Linked DNA regions of Homo sapiens: all the other regions are linked to region 3. The links are contacts of gene promoters, found by promoter capture Hi-C in blood cells and fetal thymus (Javierre and others, 2016). All regions are on one chromosome and are shown on one strand. The core of a region is centred on a gene start or on the middle of the fragment in contact, and the rest is flanking DNA. Distances in the headings are between cores, read along the strand shown.

Region 1 (3,504 bases), core at 855-3,354, 140 kb before region 3:
CTGCTGTGCGCTTGTTGATTTCATCCTCATATCTACAGGAAGAAAGGCATAGGACACATATGAGCCAGTGGGTAGGATGAAACAGAAAAGCAGCTTGGGATTCAACAATTTCCTGAATGGAATATATTCTAATTGAGCTTTCCTGCCACAGAGAGCCAAAGAGATGAGTTTTGCTACTACTAAATTTGCCACTTCTTTAATCCCCCCATCCTCCCATAACCATCTGTGGTTCTTGCAGGTTTGCTCCTAGGGACTAATTTGTGCTTTTCATTTCCATGGACATGGGTTGTTAGGAATCCTACACACATCTGGCCCTGGTCACCCAATAGTCTTGAAGTGTGTGCTGCAGGAAATGGAGTCCTCACTTGTTCTTGAGGTCCTCCACCAGGTCCTGCATGTTTCTCAGCTCCGAGTCCAGGCGGCCCCGTTCCCCGACGATGCTGTCCAGCTGCCTCCTGAGGTTGTTGATGTACTGCTCGAACAACGGCTCCAGGTTCTGCCTCACAGTCTTGGTGCCCTGCTCCTGCAGCAGGGTCCACTTGGTGTCCAGAACCTTGTTCTGCTGCTCTAGGAACCGCACCTGGAAGGGAAGCAAGATGGTCATTTTCCAGGCAAAGGAAGGAAGAAAAAGTGTCTGGTATCCAGTTTCCTGGCAGGTCTTGGAGGTCCCCATGGTGCTGGGCTACTACAGTGCATGTGGAGAGGCTCAGGCTGAGCTCTGCTCCCCCAACCCCTTCTCCTTTGCACCCCACCAGTCTCACTAGAGAAATTGTCCCATGGACCATTGAGGTGTTCTCACGCTGTAAGCTATTGATCATCAGTGAGTTTCAACATTTCTTCTCTTCTTTTTCCAGGCACAATCACAAATCTAGTTTAAAAATACTAATTACCTGATATATTGTACACAGTTTTTTTACTGATAGGATCTTAGTTAGGAGAGATATTATATGTTGACTCATGATTACATTTCAGTCTACTTTCCCATTTAGTGTCTCCTCTCAAATATTCTGATGTTATGGTCATTCTCTGTTTTTAAAATTAATTAGCATTTATCCATGTTTTACAGTTGTTTCTATGTCCCTTTTTTTCTTAATCCAGCCAGATTATCTTTTCCTTTTCTTTCTAAATCTTTTTCCTCTTACCCAGACCCCAGAGTGTAATTTACCAGCCCATATACTCCTGGCATTTGCTTTGTAATCTCTTAAACACTTCAGAGGGGAGAATTAACCTACTCCACTCTCTGATGGCCTCATCTGTGCTTCAGGGTTATGAAAAGTTACGGCTCTCCCTAGGCAGGAGTGAGGGCCACTCCAGAGATCCCATGGGGGAGTGATGCCCATCTGTGCTGCCTCCTGTGCACCGAGAGCCACCTGCACTCTCTGCAGAGCTGGGCTGAATCCCCTTCTCCCTCCCTCCTAGGTCTCCCTAGCAGGAAGGTGTTGCTCTTCTGGTCTGGGGACCCTGAAGTGCCCGATGGAGGGCATGGCACTGGCTCACCTTGTCGATGAAGGAGGCAAACTTGTTGTTGAGGGTCTTGATCTGCTCACGCTCCTCGGCCCGCACCCGCTGGATGGCGGGGTCAATTTGCAGGTTGAGGGGAGTCAGGAGACTCTGGTTGACGGTGACCTCTTGGATGCCTCCAGGGGGGCACACAGGGAAGCCAGGGCCCCCAAAGCCACCAGCAAGGCCGGCTCCACCACCCAGACCAAAGCCAATGCCGGCTCCACCACCGAAACCAAATCCACTCCCGGCGCCACCAAAGCCATAGCTGCCTCCGGCTCTGCTGCCATAGCCGCCACTGATGGCACAGCTGCCCCCTCCAATGGAGATCCTCTTGGAGCCCCCCAGGCCATACAGACTGCGGCTGCCAAAGCCAGCTCCTCCACATGCACCACCCAGGCCACCACTGCCCCTGGAGCGGGACACGGAGATGCTGCTGAAGCCAGAGCGGCTGACCCCAGGGAGCCTGGCTGAGTTGGCACTGAAACCCCGGCGGCTGCTGCTGTGGCTCCTGATGGTGGTGGATGTGCTGGCCATGGTTCCAGGAGATGAGAGGGCTGTGGCGAGCGTTGGAGGCTGGAGGCGAGAGGCAGGAGAAGCAGGACAAGGAATCGGGCTCCAGCAGTAGCTTATATATTATGAGAGAGCATGGGCTGGGCCCAGTCCTGGAAGGTGAGCTTGCAGGTTGGGAAGGGCTGGGCTTTACAAATAGTGAGATCACACCTGGATCAGAAAAGTTATGAAATGCTGAGATGGCATTTTTCACTTCCTTTAGTCAGGGAAAATGTTCCTGCCTCCAGCTTTGACTCGAGATTTCAGCACAGTAAGAGCATTCTCAGTTCATGAAGTTGAAGTTAGTCACTGTCTTCAGCAAAGGTTCTGCATGCTAGGCTGTTTATCAACATGCTGTGAGTGCTTTCCTCTTTCCAGCCTGACTTTCTTCCAGCAGAGATGTTGGAGATCACAAGCACTGTATTGCAAATGCCTTAACAGAAATATTAACATTTTTCCTGTAATTATTTTTCCTTCTGTGTGCAATTTCAAACATGTAGAGGAGCAGAACACAATGGGCCTGTATATACCTATTACCTGTTTCCATGATGATTACCTTATGGCCAGTCTTATTTCTTGTATATTTCCACCCGGTTCCCTTATCAATGTTAAATTTTTTTAAATCCCAAAAATATTTGGGATTTAATTCAATATTAATTCAATATTAATCTTTAAATGATAGACCTTTTAGAAATATAACTGAAATATTATTTTGTATTTTAAAAATGTATGTATTTATTAAGTCTTCGCCCTCAAGGAGTTGACTCTAATAAAGATGACAACACAAAAGGAGATAGAAGACATCACATCCAGTGGCATCACTGAGCTAGAAAGAAAGTAATGCTTTACTAGGAAGAAAAGAGCATAGAGAGGGGGTGTAGAGGGGACAGTGGGGAAGGGTAATTTTTTTTCTTTTTTTTTTGAGATAGAGTCTCTCTCTGTCACCCAGGCTGGAGTCCAGTGGTGCGATCTAGGTTCACTGCAACCTCCGCCTCCCAGGTTCAAGAGATTCTCTCACCTCAGCCTCCTGAGTAGTTTGAGATTACAGGTGGCCACCATCAAGCACGGCTAATTTTTTGTATTTTTAGTAGAGATGGTGTTTCGCCATGTTGGCCAGGCTGGTCTCGAACTCCTGACCTCAGGTGATCCACCTGGCTCAGCCTCCAAAAGTGCTGGGATTACAGGCATGAGCCACTGCTCCCAGCCAATTTGTGTATTTATTAACATCAATGTGTCTATTCAATTCTCCAATGTCCTTTTTCATTTATTTCCTTATTGTTTACAATTCTTTTGTTGATAAGACCAGGTTAATTGTCCTGAGTAGTGTTTCAGTCTTTGGGATTTCCTCATTGCTTACTCACAGTGTTTCATTTAAGATGCTACTGTGTCCTCTATATTTCCTGCAAACTGATCATTAAAACTTGAAGCTTAATAAGACTCTCATATACTTAG
Region 2 (3,195 bases), core at 360-2,859, 210 kb before region 3:
AATTCGGGCCCATGTTTTTGGAATAAGTTTATAGCCAGAACTTAATAAGCTTTAGAAATAAAACTGTAAGTTTGACTAAACAAGTTCCTCTGTGAAGCACTTTGGCATATATTACCTCCTCTAATCTCCCACCGTCATTCCTCCCCTTCCTCACTGGGCAGCACCGTCCAAAGGCCAAGAGGTGAATGGCTTGCCCGGGGATTCCGGGTGTAGGAGTAGAGTCAATGCCAGTGGCCAGGGCTCCTGACCTCTGGCCCAGGACTCTTGCCCCTAAACCTTACGGTCACCAGAAACACCAGCTCAAACTGTGGAATGAATCCTCACCCCAAGAGCCTCCCTGGGGCGTGGGATGGACCCAGAGGCTGTTGAGTCCTTCAGCACCTTCAGAAGGCATGCCACATCTTTTCCTGCAGTGGGTGCTGTACTGTAGATGTGGGAATCTGCGCTCTTCCTGCAGTGGGTGCTATACTGTAGATGTGGGAATCTGCACTGTTCCTGCAGTGGGTGCTGTGCTGTAGATGTGGGAATCTGCACTGTTCCTGCAGTGGGTGCAGATTCAGTTCAGCACCTTCTGAAGGCATGCCTTCCTAGCAGCCTTTCAGTGGCTCTGGAGATGACAGATGTAAGACTTTTGTGACCGTCACCCTGTGCCTCTAGCTCTGACTGTCCACTTTCCTCTCATCCCAGGCCTAAAATGATTGGAAACTCTGAGGTCACAGTGTCCATCCTCACCTTCAGGCTCAAGAGTTGTGACACAGCTCAGGCACACAGAAGGCGGTTCTACTGTTAAAGCCTCATCAGGAAGGGCATTTCTCTGCCTCTCTGGTCATTCCTTTCAGTATTGCTTTGGAAGTTCCTCTTATAGTCTGACCTCAGGCAACCTTGGTGATTGGTGATTTTGTCAGATAATATTCAGAGAAAGATGATATATTTTAAGAAAGACAAGGAAGCAGAAATGTTTAGTGCAGAATCTGATCTAACTGGCTTTCAAAGGCTGGTGGTCGTGGAATGTGAGGGAGGCCACTGGATAAACTGAGGCCTCCTCAATGTCAGTCTCCTCCTGGTTCCCTTGGACCAGAACAAGACCAGACCCCAGATCTGCAGTGGGTCCTCTCACGGCCCTGGGCCACTGCCCCCTTACCTTGTTGATGAAAGATGCGAAACGGTTGTTGAGGCACTTGATCTGCTCCTTCTCATCCCTCTTTACCCTCTGCACAGTCGGGTCTATCTCCAGTGCCAGTGGGACCAGCAGGCTCTCATTGATGGTGACAGGGGTGATGCAGGCAGAAGGCCCACAGGTGGCTCCCAGTCGGTACCCGAAGCCAGGCAGGGTACCTCCACACCTGGAGGCTACCCGGGGCCTCCCAAAGCCCACGTTGCACAGGCTCCGTGAGCCAAGGCAGCCCAGAGCTCGGAGGCCCCTACCACCCCCGGGCCGGCATGGCCCCTTGCTCACTGCATAGTGGGTGACCATCCGGGGCATGACAGCCGAGTATGAGCTGAAACTCTGACTGCCACACCTGGAGCCTGGCTGGAAAGAGTGGTACGACATGGCAGGAGAGAGAGGCAGAGAAATGCGGCCCTGGAGGAAAGAACCGGGGCAGGATGATCAAGTCAGGCTCAGCTTCCCCCCTTTTATCTGGTAGGGGGATGGAGGACTGAGATGTGTCAAACCCCAAATCACCATTAAACTAGGTTTATGAGCTTGGGATATTGGCAGAGCTAAGTAGCAAGGTGGATAATTAGGGTAGCGAAGAGCAAAGAGAAGGGGCCAATGGTCAGTGCTGGTGGGCCCTATAAAAATCCTATTTGTCCTCCTTCCTTGATTGTGGGGGTGATGAAAGGGGCCAACCAGACAGATATGTTCCATGTATCCAGTGGCTCAGCCTCAAGGAAAGGGAGAGTTGGGACTACGTCATTTCATAGGAGGGGAGGCGTGCCATGAATTATACACCCTGGCTTCTCTGGGATTAGAGGGCAAGTCCCATATGCTTAAAGATGCTCTGGCTCTTTCCCCAAGGCTGCTCCTAGGCTTTTTTGCAGATCCTCAACCCAAGTGCCCTCTGTGGGCTCCTAGGTGAGTCAGGAAGTTCCCAGGAGGAAGGCTTTTGGGGTGGGAGAATCCTCCCTACAACAGGCCGGACCTTAACCCTCCTGAGCTCTGGCTCAGTGACCCACTGTCCCATGAGGGTCTTGAAGGTAGACAGACTCCAGGCATAGACACTTTTCTACAGGGCCCATCAGTCCACAAAGGCTGCAGGGAACTCAAGAGGAGAGGCCTGGTGCTTGAGAAGGGCAGAGGAAGGGACGCTCTCCTCAACACTTCTGGGGCCCCCAGAAGGCATGATTTCAGCATCAGGTCTCGGCTTCCATGTGGCTGTTCCTTTCCCCTTTTGCCCAACCCAGCCTGAGTGTCCCTGAGGTCAACAGAGCCAGCTTTGGCCTGAGGATGTCTCTGGGGAGAGTTGTTGCCCTTGGGAATTTTCAGGTGGAGGTGGGATTCAGGTTTTCTTTCCAGCTCAGGTCGCAGACACAGCTCTTTGGAGATGTCTGAAGCCCCCGCCTCACTCTCTTTCCTCCTCTTTTCCATCAATTTCATCAGTGAAACTTTTGCCATGGCCGAATGGCCTTTCCCTTCCACACTGAGACTTATCACCAGGTCAAAATCAAACCAATAATAATAATAATAACAATAATAAACATTTATTGGGCATTTATTGTGTGTTGGGACCACTCCGTACTCTTTACATCCATGGTCTCATTTAATTCTCTGACCACACAATGAGATAGTTACTATGCCACAGACAGGAAAATGGGAAGCACAGCAGTTAAGAGCAACATCCCCAAGTCACACAGCTTGTGGCTGATCAGCTGGGAGTCCATCCTGTTCCTTTTGACTTCACCCTGCCATGCTGCTCCACAGCAGGGAAGCCCAGGTGAGGAATTGGGAATCTGCTGCCCATAAATGTTCTGTTGTCCCTGTCCGTCAGCCTTCCAACCTGTGGATTAGGAGACTGGAACTCAAAGGTTTCCTGAGCCTCAGAAATTCTCAGTCTCATTGTGACATTTCACACTCCCTGTCCCCTTTTTCATAGTCCTGACTGTGGGCCCCAGAGTAGTGGAGGAGGAGGGGTGCAAGGCGAGACCACAGGCCACAATGGGAGGCAGAAGGTTGGGTGAGGGGGTCCAATTGCA
Region 3 (3,523 bases), core at 618-3,117:
TCAGTCCAGGCCACCTCTCCAAGGCAGCCCCTTAGACACAAGCTGGCCTGTGCTAGCCTTCACACTGTCAGGCCTTCTGCTCGGGGTCTGGTGGCCCGTGCTCTGCCTAGTCTCTCCCTCCTTGTGCGTGGGCTCTCCCAGCCCAGCCAGAGGCAGATGTTCAGCTTATCTGGGGTCTCCGGCCCTCCTAAGTTGCTTTCATGTCTGAATCTCTACTATCTCAATCACAGCATTGTCCCAGCAGCAGAACAAGCATTCTCAAGTTGCAACCTACAAATATATCATTCCCTTGCTTAAAACCCTCAGGTGGTTCCACATCACCCTCAGGGTCAAGTCCATATTCCTTATCACACTCTTCATAATGTGCCCAGCCCTCCTGGCTTCCTTCTTTACTCATACAGTGATGTCGTAAACCGAAGGTCTCCCATTCCCCAGACAAGTTCTACCATGCTGCACGTGCTGTCTCCCTAGATTGCCTTTTCCCCACCTCCATCTGAAAACTCCTACTCATGCCTCACCACCCTACCTCACTGTCGCTCCGGGTGAGCTTCCCCTGCTCCTCTAAGCTTAGGAAGTCTCTGCTTCCCAATACCTTCCTACCACTTTGTTCCTCAGTGATTCTCAAACCTGAGTGTACATCAGCATCACCTGGAGAGCTTGTTAAAATGCAGGGTGCTGGGCCCTGCTGCAGAGTCTCTGATTCAGTTGCTCTGGGGTGGAGCCTGAGAGTGTGCATTCTAACAAGCGTCCAGGTGACGTTGCTGCTGCTGGTTCCAGGGCCACCTTTGAGAACCACTGCTCTAGGGCACCGTGACCTCCAGCTGCCTTGCCTCATAGGCTGTGTGTGTTACGGACTGAGTCTGAGCTTTCAGGGGACACAGGAGGAACAGCTGGGTCGCATGGCAGTCTAGATGCCCCAGGCTGTCAAGGGCATCTCCTTCGCCTAGCTTCTAAGTCTCACAGGCTGTCACTCTGCTACTTCTCAACTCAGAGACCGCTCTCATTGCTTCCTGGACACCTTCCTGGGCTAGGCTGCTGGCTCCTCTCACCCCTCCAACCCTGGTCCCTTGCCTCTGATGTCCAGGCTTTGTCCAGTTCCTCCCTGGGCTATGTCTGCATCCTGGGGAGGTGTCCTGCCTTCGTCTGCTTCAGACAGGGAGCACCCCAAGGACAATGAAGGCGGGGGAAGGAAGGGGCTCTACGGCATGAGCAAGCCTTATGGGCCCAGCACCTGGGGAGCTTTCAAGTTGTTTACCTGGTGTCTGATTTTGCTGGGAGAAAATGATTTCTTGCTCTCAGGCAAATTGAACCACAAATTAGGGCAGTGGCTCCCTCCTGAGTCCTTAAAAGGGGAGCCCAAGATCAGCTTTCTCCAGAAAGACCCACCTTGTCAATGAAGGAGGCGAACTTGTTGTTCAGCACCTTGATCTGCTCCCGCTCCTGGGCACGCACTTTCTGGATTTCAGGGTCCAGCTCCACGTTCAGGGGTGCCAGGAGGCTCTTGTTGATGGTGACCTGATGGATACCCCCGGGCGGGCACAACGACGGACACACGGACCCCAAGGCCACACTGCCAAACATGCTGCCAGCAAAGCCACTGGCCCGGCCCCGGCCAAATCCATAGCCTCCTGCCCACCCACTGCCACTGGCCACATTGAAAGAGATGCTCCGGGCACCCCCCAGGCTGTAAAGGCTCCGACTGCTGAAGCCTCCACTGAGCCCTTTGCCCCCTGCTCGGTAGGAGGATGAGCTGCCCCCTGAGAGCACAGCGGAGCAGCCGCTGAAGCCCCCCTTGGCAGCAGCTCCCGACTTGTAGGTGAATTGGCGGCTCATGGTGGGGAGGCCAGAAAGTGGGGATAAGATGCTGACCCTTAGCTGAGATGCAGTTCACCAGCCTGTGATCCTGGGCTCCCACTTTATAGGACTCAAGAGGGAGCCATGGGCCTAATTTGTGGGTTCAGTTTGCCTGGAAGCAAGAAATCATTTTCTCCCAGCAAAATCAGACACCAGGTAAATGACTTGAAAACTCCCAAAGTGCTAGTCTTGCAAGTCTTGCTCATGTAATTTGAGTTTTATCTAATGAACATGTGTAATTAGCATGGGCACATTATCCATAGAAAGATCTTAGGTGGGAGGTTTGTCGCAGTCTCAATTGCTGTTCCCCAGGGAGTGGTGGGGCCTGGGATTGTAGGGGTACAGAGGGGAGACCTTTAATTGACAGTGTCATCTGTTAGAAATCTCACAACCATGCCAGCATCAGATGGGCTGCTTCAGGGACCCTGGCTGAGCTGCTTTTATGTGGTTAAGAAGAGGCTGCTGCTGCCTGGCTTCCCAGAGTTCCTGGAGACAGGTTTGATGGCTGGCCAGGGCCATAGGAGAGGAGCACACTGGGAATCCAGGACCAGCCTCTGGCTGCCAGCCCCCTGCTGTGCCCTCCCAGGCAGCTCTCCTGCTCCTCTGTGCCAGCCGGGCTGCCCTGCTCACCTTCCTTTGCACACACTGACTTCTTTTTCCCTTTACCATCCCACTACCCTGACTCTTGACCTTGAAATTATGGTCATTGCACCATTCACGATGGCTGACACTGGTGCAGCACTTTACAGTGTAACAGAGCTCCTCACACAAGAAGCTCATTTAATCCACTTAGTCTGCATGGAGGGGAATGGTGATGATCCACATTACACAAATGGGGAAACCAAGGTTCAGATAATTGAGGATGTCATTCCTTTAGCAAACATTTAGTGAGTCCTTTCTTTGTGTGAATCCCAGAGAATGAAAATGCCCCCAAAAAGCACAGGCCCCAGCCTTGAGGACTCCCTTGGCTGGTCTTCTGACTCCACATTCAGAGCTATGCCCGCCTTATTCATTCGTCCATCTATCCGTCCAACCAGCCAGCCAGCCATCTACTTGTTCATTCATTTATCCATTCGTTTAACAGACTTCTCTTGAGGGCTGACTCTCTCCCAGGTACTGTGCTAGGCTCTTGGGTCCCGAATTATGAAGACCAAACCTAGCTCACAATTTTGGAGATGGGGAGGTAGGGGAAGACATTTGAATTTCATGGATCCTTGACATTGCCAAAGTATGTGACCCAAGAGTTTCCCAAATCCCAAATCCCAAATATATCCATAGTATAGAATTTCCTCCATAAAAACACAAGTATTTCACTAGCTGGAGTACTTGAATGAACAGTTGGCCCATCCTTCTTTTCTATTTCTGTATAGAGGTTATGATATGCCTCTAAAATTGTTGTACTAAGCAATTGCCAAATTCAACCTCCCCTCTGTTTTATACAATATGGTTGTTTTCTAGTTAAGAATAATCATTTTCTTTGATGTCTTCAATTTCACTAAAGGCAATGCCACTTGGAAGTCCTTTAATCTTTTTTAGCTAACATGAAGTTCTATTCCTTTTTTTCTTTTTTTTTTTTTTTTTTTTTGAGATGGCGTTTCACTCTTCTTGCCCAGGCTGGAGTGCAATAGCATGATCTCGGCTCATCGCAACCTCCACTTCCTGGGTTCAA

What was found. The method cuts DNA at HindIII sites, captures the fragments that hold promoters and counts their contacts. A CHiCAGO score of 5 or more calls a contact.
Region 1: the fragment with the promoter of KRT6C here is called in contact with the fragment with the promoter of KRT73 in region 3 in 5 of 17 cell types (endothelial precursors, neutrophils, monocytes and 2 more); the score reaches 9.2 in endothelial precursors.
Region 2: a contact is called between the fragment with the promoter of KRT82 here and the fragment with the promoter of KRT73 in region 3, in 4 of 17 cell types (endothelial precursors, M0 macrophages, monocytes and 1 more). The highest score is 8.5, in endothelial precursors.

What each region holds. Positions count from the first base shown.
Region 1 is chr12:52,471,701-52,475,204 of GRCh38, forward strand. It overlaps KRT6C (keratin 6C), which reads right to left and starts at 2,105. Exons shown (of 9, transcript NM_173086.5): 1 at 1,498-2,105; 2 at 366-580; 3 at 1-32. The coding sequence starts at 2,037. The HindIII fragment of the contact is 8,852 bases long and covers 1-3,477 here.
Region 2 is chr12:52,404,726-52,407,920 of GRCh38, forward strand. It overlaps KRT82 (keratin 82), which reads right to left and starts at 1,610. Exons shown (of 9, transcript NM_033033.4): 1 at 1,142-1,610. The coding sequence starts at 1,552. The HindIII fragment of the contact is 6,676 bases long and covers 48-3,195 here.
Region 3 is chr12:52,616,692-52,620,214 of GRCh38, forward strand. KRT73 (keratin 73) reads right to left here and starts at 1,868. Exons shown (of 9, transcript NM_175068.3): 1 at 1,387-1,868. The coding sequence starts at 1,833. The HindIII fragment of the contact is 4,368 bases long and covers 565-3,523 here.